2 separate regions of the Homo sapiens genome follow, and region 2 is linked to region 1. The links are contacts of gene promoters, found by promoter capture Hi-C in blood cells and fetal thymus (Javierre and others, 2016). All regions are on one chromosome and are shown on one strand. The core of a region is centred on a gene start or on the middle of the fragment in contact, and the rest is flanking DNA. Distances in the headings are between cores, read along the strand shown. Region 1 holds the start of DEFB118 (defensin beta 118). Region 2 has its middle 13 kb from the start of LINC00028.

The links. Contacts are between HindIII fragments. The CHiCAGO score rates a contact against its expected background, and 5 or more counts as called.
Region 2: a fragment that was not itself captured here is called in contact with the fragment with the promoter of DEFB118 in region 1 in 1 of 17 cell types (M1 macrophages); the score reaches 5.1 in M1 macrophages.

What each region holds. Positions count from the first base shown.
Region 1 is chr20:31,367,042-31,370,399 of GRCh38, reverse strand. DEFB118 (defensin beta 118) reads right to left here and starts at 1,799. Exons shown (of 2, transcript NM_054112.3): 1 at 1,692-1,799. The coding sequence starts at 1,749. The HindIII fragment of the contact is 1,593 bases long and covers 1,220-2,812 here.
Region 2 is chr20:31,497,127-31,500,484 of GRCh38, reverse strand. No RefSeq gene overlaps it. Among named protein-coding and RNA genes, the nearest start is that of LINC00028, 13 kb to the right of the region's middle. The HindIII fragment of the contact is 1,249 bases long and covers 1,010-2,258 here.

The DNA.
Region 1 (3,358 bases), core at 550-3,049:
TCTGTCTCTTTCCTAGTCTCAATATCTCCACTAGCACTCAAAGCAGACACAATTGCTTTCAAAGTGATCACACAGAATTATTCCTGTTTGTGTCTGGAATTGTAACTGAAGAATTACTAAAAACCCCCAGAGTTGGCAATTTCTGCTGGCAGTGTCCTTTAAGATACACAACTTCTGATTACTGACTTCTGGTTACCCAGAATCCCTTGGGGTAGGAACACAAGCATAGGAAGAGCCAGCAGCAGGAGTTTCATGGTCCCTGGGAAACAGGAGAGGTTTCCCTGTTTCCCTACCCTGAACGCCAGGGTAGACCCAGGCGTTCAGAACGCTGTGTGCAGTGGGAGTCTGAACAAGAGTTATTGGCCTCTCTGCAATGAGGGCAGAGGAATAGAGGAATTAATGGAACAAATATATATTTTTAATTTTCTTGCCCACCCCCACCAGACTTACATTTAACTTGGTTATTTGCCCTCTAGGAATCTATCCTATTTAAGCCCATATCCATATATGTAAATATATTAATGTTTGTACAAGCATATTCATTGATGTCTTGTTCGAAAATTAAGAAATGTCTCAAATGGCTATATATGACTTTATATGGCTTATCCTACAGCAGAACTATACAACTTTACAAACAATAAGGCAGATCTTTAGATGGTGACATGGAAAGATGGCCACAAAATAATAAGTGAAAGAAGAGTGCTGCATAGGGCCGGGTGCGGTGGCTCATGCCTGTAATCCCAGCACTTTGGGAGACCGAGGCGGATGGATCACCCGAGGTCAAGAGTTTGAGACCAGCCTTGCCAACATGGTGAAACCCCATCTCTACTAAAAATACAAAAATTAGTCGGACATGATGGTGCATGCCTGTAATCCCAGCTGCTTGGGAGGCTGAGGCAGGAGAATTGCTTGAACCCAGGAGGCAGAGGTTGCAGTGAGCTGAGATTGCGCCACTGCACTCCAGCCTGGGTGACAGATTGAGATTCCATCTTCAAAAAAAAAAAAAAAAAAAAACACAAGAGTGCTGCATAGCCATGCAGGGAGTGTGCTTACTTCGTTATAAAACAGAAATATTTAGATTCATTTTTATGTAAGTTCGATCATACATTGAAATGCACCTTGAAAAACATAAAGGAGAAACAGGCTCTCTTCACCAGTGATTTCAAAGTTCTGGTCATGCCTTTAGATATACTTAAGAAAGCAGTGATTATGAAAAGCTTAGATTTTCACTGTAGAAGGAAGAAGAAAAGCCAGTTCTGTCTTCCGTGTAACAGCTCTACCAGTGTTTTCTGACTTGTTCACCAAATTCTAGAATATTAGAAAACAAAAAGAACCTCATTATAGCTATAGCAGGACTTTTAGGGCCAAGAAAACATAGCAAAGTGGGCTGCAGGAATCATTTTCAAAAGCTGGCACAATCTGGAAAGAGAACAGATGTGAGCCGAGCTTTCCCCTAGTTTCTTAGGCGGCAACTTGGAATATAGAACCAAGGACAACTCTGGATGGTGGGACTGCCCCTGTCTATTGAGGATAACTTGCTCTACTCCCAGGTTTTACCCCAGCCAGGAGCATAGTCCCAGTGTGGGAACTGTGGAGCTGCCCATGTTGGGGAGTACCGTGACACATTGGAATTTTCATGAGCCAGAACCCACTATACCTCTATTTTTGTATCTTCCCTGACCTCTGATTACCTGGGATCACTTGGGGTAGGAGCACAAGCATAGGAAGAGCCAGCAGCAGGAGTTTCATGGTCCTTGGGAAGCAGGAGGTGGTAGATCCAGGAGTTCAGAATACTGTGTGCAGTGTGAGTCTGAACAAGAGTTTTATTGGCCTCTCTGCAGTGGGGGCAGAGGGATGGGCACAGAACCAGCCGGATATCTAAGAGCTTATCCATGCATAACATCAGTCTAGTGTGTGGCACATAAGCTGAGCATTTGATCCAGGCACTGGGAGGGCATGCAGAGGGTTACAAGTCACAGGTTTTGAGGAGGTGTTTGGAGCAATGGAGAGGGAAGATTCACACTGGGACATCTTCCCTAGCTTTCCCCGATCTCTCATTAGGGCTCAGCCCTTCTTCACAGCCCCTCTCACTCTAGCATAAACCTACTTTTGAATGGTCTACTTATCTGTGTGTCTCCCCGCACCAGCCTGTGAAATTCCTGAGAGTAGGGAACGTGTCTTTCATTTTTGAGCCCCCAAGGCACGAAGCATGCTCTCAGTGAAGGTTTGTGGAAATAAACGATAATGAACACATGTCAATCTATAAGCCAAATCCCTCTCTTACATATGTGCCCAACAGGGAAAATGACTTGCCCAAGAAGTCACTTGCTGCAGAAGTTTGAGGGAGATCATTTATAAGACTCAAAGGGGGATGCTACCCAATGTCATTAAAAAAAAAATTCCCTAGCTGGGTGTGGTGGTGGGTGCCTGTAATCCAAGCTACTCAGGAGGCTGAGTCAGGAGAATCGCTTAAACCCAGGAGGTGGAAGTTGCAGTGAGCTGAGATCGCACCACTGCACTCCAGCCTGGGCAACAGAGTGAGACTCTGTCTCAAAAAAAAAAAAAAAAATCCCTGCTGAAGACAGATCTACAATAATTTGGGATGTTACCTTTGACAACGGCACCATGAGGGTCATCAGAGGTCTGGGAGCTGTCCATGAAGACCCCAACATTTAGACTTGCCTTTGGGATGTGGAACCTCGATGTCACCCCCAGAGTCAGCCTAGGTCCTGCATTGCTTTAGTTGCATTTTCATCGTGTTTCAACTTTTGCTCCCTCTTGTTTACTCGGCTCTAAAAGTCTCTGTAAAGCTTTTACAGAGGAGGTTGCTGATTTTTCTCTTCTGGAATTGATAACTTTCACTGTGAGAATAATTGATGGGAATTAGCAGGGTTGCCATGTGATTGAGGAGACTTCTCTTCTGGATGGAACCATGTGGAAAGCGTAGCATGGTGGTGGGCTATTTTCAAATTAATTTTGTTTTATGTTTTTATTTTTTTGAGACAGGATCTCGCTCTGTAGCCCAGGCTAGGGTGCAGTGGTGCGATCACAGCTCATTGCAGCCTCAAGCTCCTGAGCTCAAGCAATCCTCCCACCTCAGCCTCCTGAGTAGCTGGGACTGCCCAGGTATTCACCACCATGCCCGAATATTTAAAAAAATTTTTTTGGGAGAGACAGGTCTTACTATGTTGCCCAGGCTAGTCTCAAACTCCTGGGTTCAAGTGGTCCTCCCTCCTTGGCCTCCCAAAGTGCTGGAATTACAGGCATGGGCCACTGCACCTGGCCTCCAAATTAATTTTAGATTAGTATGTTCTAACAGGCAGAACTCTCTTACTATGGAATTGTTTCCCAGAGAGGG
Region 2 (3,358 bases), core at 385-2,884, 130 kb before region 1:
GGTGGTGTGCTTGGGGAGGCTGGATTCAGGCCTGGTGATTCCAGCCTCCAGCAAGACTCCCAGGCCCCTCGCTTGGCTTGGCTTGCAGGGGCTGCTGGATTTCAGGGGCTATTGAGGGCTTGGGCACCGTGGTCAGAGGCTTCACGTGGTTCAGTGCCAGGCGGAGTCCCTGTCTTCCCTCCTTGTTTCTTGTCATGGAGTGGCTTCAGTAAGGATGGAGACTGAATTTCCATGCAGCCCAGAAGGATGGGAGTAGGGGATAGGAGTAGAATTTGCTTTTTGAGAAAATAAAAAAATGAATATTTCTTGCACACTTGAGTTTGGAGGTTAAGATTTAGATCTGATGCAATAATTTGTAATTCTTTTTATTATTATTATTGTTTTGAGATGGAGTCTTGCTCTGTTGCTCAGGCTGGAGTGTAGTGGTATGATCTTGGCTTACTGCCACCTCAGCTTCCCAGGTTCAAGTGATTCTCCTGCCTCAGCGCCCTGAGTTGCTGGGATTACAGGTGTGTGCCACCATGCTCAGCTGATTTTTATATTTTTAGTAGAGAAGGGGTTTCACCATGTTGGCCAGGCTGGTCTCGAACTCCTGACTTCAGGTGATCCGCTCACCTCGGCCTCCCAAAGTGCTGGGATTACAGGTGTGAGCCACCGCGCCTGGCCTCTTTGTATTATTTTAATAAAGTTGTCTTTTTTGGTTTGTCTCTCCTATTAGACTGTGAACTCCTTGAGGGCAGAAATTATGCATGTTGTGTTCACACTGAACTTCACCCAGTACTTCTACTGTCTAGAGAGTGCCCAGCACATAGTAAATGTTCAGTAATCATTATAATTATAACACACATGCATGGGGTACTGATTTGCTTCCCATGCACTGCACTAAACATTTACAAACTCACTTGATCCTCACACCATCGTACGGGGCAGGCATCTCCACTGTCCTCATTATGCACACAAGGACTCCGAGGTACAGACAGGCTAAATAACTTGCCCAAGGTCACAAGCTTGGGTTGCATTTAATAAATATTCATCAAATGAATGGATGAGTGGATGATTTCCTGCAGTGCTCCTTGCTCTCTTTTGCCCTTCAACCTATGCAGCTCCATCCCCTCCATCCCACAGTATCAGAATTGCACAGGTTAGACCCAGGCAGGGGAGTGCCTCAGCATCTTTGGTGAGTCCCTGAAGCCCTGAGACTTGGAGTTTGCAAATGCTTGGTGCTCATTGCTTTTGAGGGCAGGAACAGAAGGACAGAAAGGAGGCGTCAGAGACAACGTCCTTAGCCCTGGGACTGGTGACTGATCCCTTTTAATCTCCTCTGGCTTGTCCTGCTAGGCTACTTTCTCTGTGTTTATTTATTTATTTATTTATATTCTTTTAGATGTGGGGTCTTACTGTATTGCCCAGGCTGGTCTCGAACTCTTGAGCTCAATTGATCCTCCTTCCTTGGCCTCCCAAAGTGCTGGGATTATAGGCCCTACTTTCTCTTTATCCTTACACGTCAACACACTAGGTAGTCACAGGTTCCCTAGATTCTTTTCAGCCTCCCTGCTTTTGCTCAAGATCTTCCCTGTGCCTGGGACATCCTTCCAATCCTGAGATTCCATTTTTCTAAAAGAAGATAGCGGGAAGGTAGGCCAGTTCTTTAAACCATGGCCATTCCTTGTTTGGTTATACTGAAACACTAGATTGCGTCTGGTCTCTGGCAGTCTTCTGATGGTGGTGGTGGTGGTGACTGTAGAACGGTATCCTCATCCCCTTGTCTTTGGTGGGGATACTGAGTCCCAGAGAGGAAAAGGGACTTGATAAAAACAAAACAGGGGATCAGACTCGGAGTGATTCTAGACTCAGAGTGGGGCAGCAACTTCTGCCTTACACAGCGGATGGGCCCGACCCCCCAAAAAGAGCTACTCAGTTCTGAGCATAGAGCCTGAAATTCCACCATTGGAGATTATTTCCTTTGGAGGGCAAAGGATGTTGAAGGCTCTTTGGTCTTCAGGGAGCCTCAGCCAATGTTGCAAACCCCTGCGATGAGTCCTACACAAAACTCATGTCAGCCTGTTCCCAGGAGGATGGGCTGGCTGACAGGCAGCCAAGGGTGAGATGCCGTGGGAAGGAGATCCTGACTGAGGGCTGGAGGAATGTGGGAAGCACCAAAGCAGGCAGAAAAATGGGGATAGGTGGGGGAGGGGCGGTGTCAGCTGTAGAGAGGGTGGGGCTGCTGTGAGAGCCTCGGGTGGGGGACTCAGGAAGCTTGACTTCACTGCCAGCTTGCTGTGTGATGTTGGGCAAGTCTCTTTCCTACTCGGAGCTCTGATATGGGTTAGTGCTATGGAACAGACTTGCTTCTGGTTTATCTTAAGGCTCTTGGGTGTCAGAAAGTTGGTGCCCCGGGGTAGTGGTTGCCATGGCAACTATCTCTAAGGAGATAGTGACCAAGGAGACTGTTGCCATGACTATGGTGACCAGGTAAAGAGCCAAATGATTGGTTCTCACTTCTTTCTTGAGACAGGTCCCTCCCCATCACTTCCTTCCATTACCTGCTCAAGTTCAGTGTGTGGGGTCCAGATAAACTGACACCTAAAGGAAGTGTCAGGAGTCAGGGACCTGCATTCTAATACCTTGTTTTACACTGCCTGGCAGTGTGACCTTGGGCAAGTCTCTGCTTCTCCCTGGGCGTTAGTTTCCTCATCTGAAAGATGAAGAGATTGCACAGGGCCTCTTCACCTCTAAATTTCTACCATTTGCCTTTAAACAGGAGACAAAGTTGTGATCCAAAGGGTTGTTTCCAGGAGTGATATGAAAAGTAGTAATAATGGTTGTGACCATCACTTACTGATGATCCACATAGCCCTGGGTGGCCCTGCCGTGGTAAGGGTACTACCCCTTTAATGGCTGTTAAGGGGAGGGGCCCTGGAGGCTTCCAGAGGAAGGCCTGGAGGGTCTGTTATACCTGGTACTTGGAGGACACTCAGGGCATGGGTTATTACCAACTAGTAGGAATGCATTTAAATATTTTAATGATTAGTATGACCATACCTTTGTATACTGAACAAGAGCCTTGGTTGTATCCATAATGGTGGAATTATGGGCATTGTGAGTAGCAAGAGGAGATTTACCAGGCAGAGGGACCGCACTGATGTCATAGAGATCAGGATGCATTTGATGTGGCTGATGGCTCTCAGATCTTAACCAGCCCTGGCGAAGATCTCTGAGAATAGGATCGATCCTTCTTCCTGGCCACCGCACCCTCCCTGAGTCAGCTGTGCGCATCCCCAGAGAGTCGAGTTTGCCAGCATCTCCATTCCAGGAGTGGTTGATGCCCAGATTCATGGGCAGGGCACAGCAGGAGTTG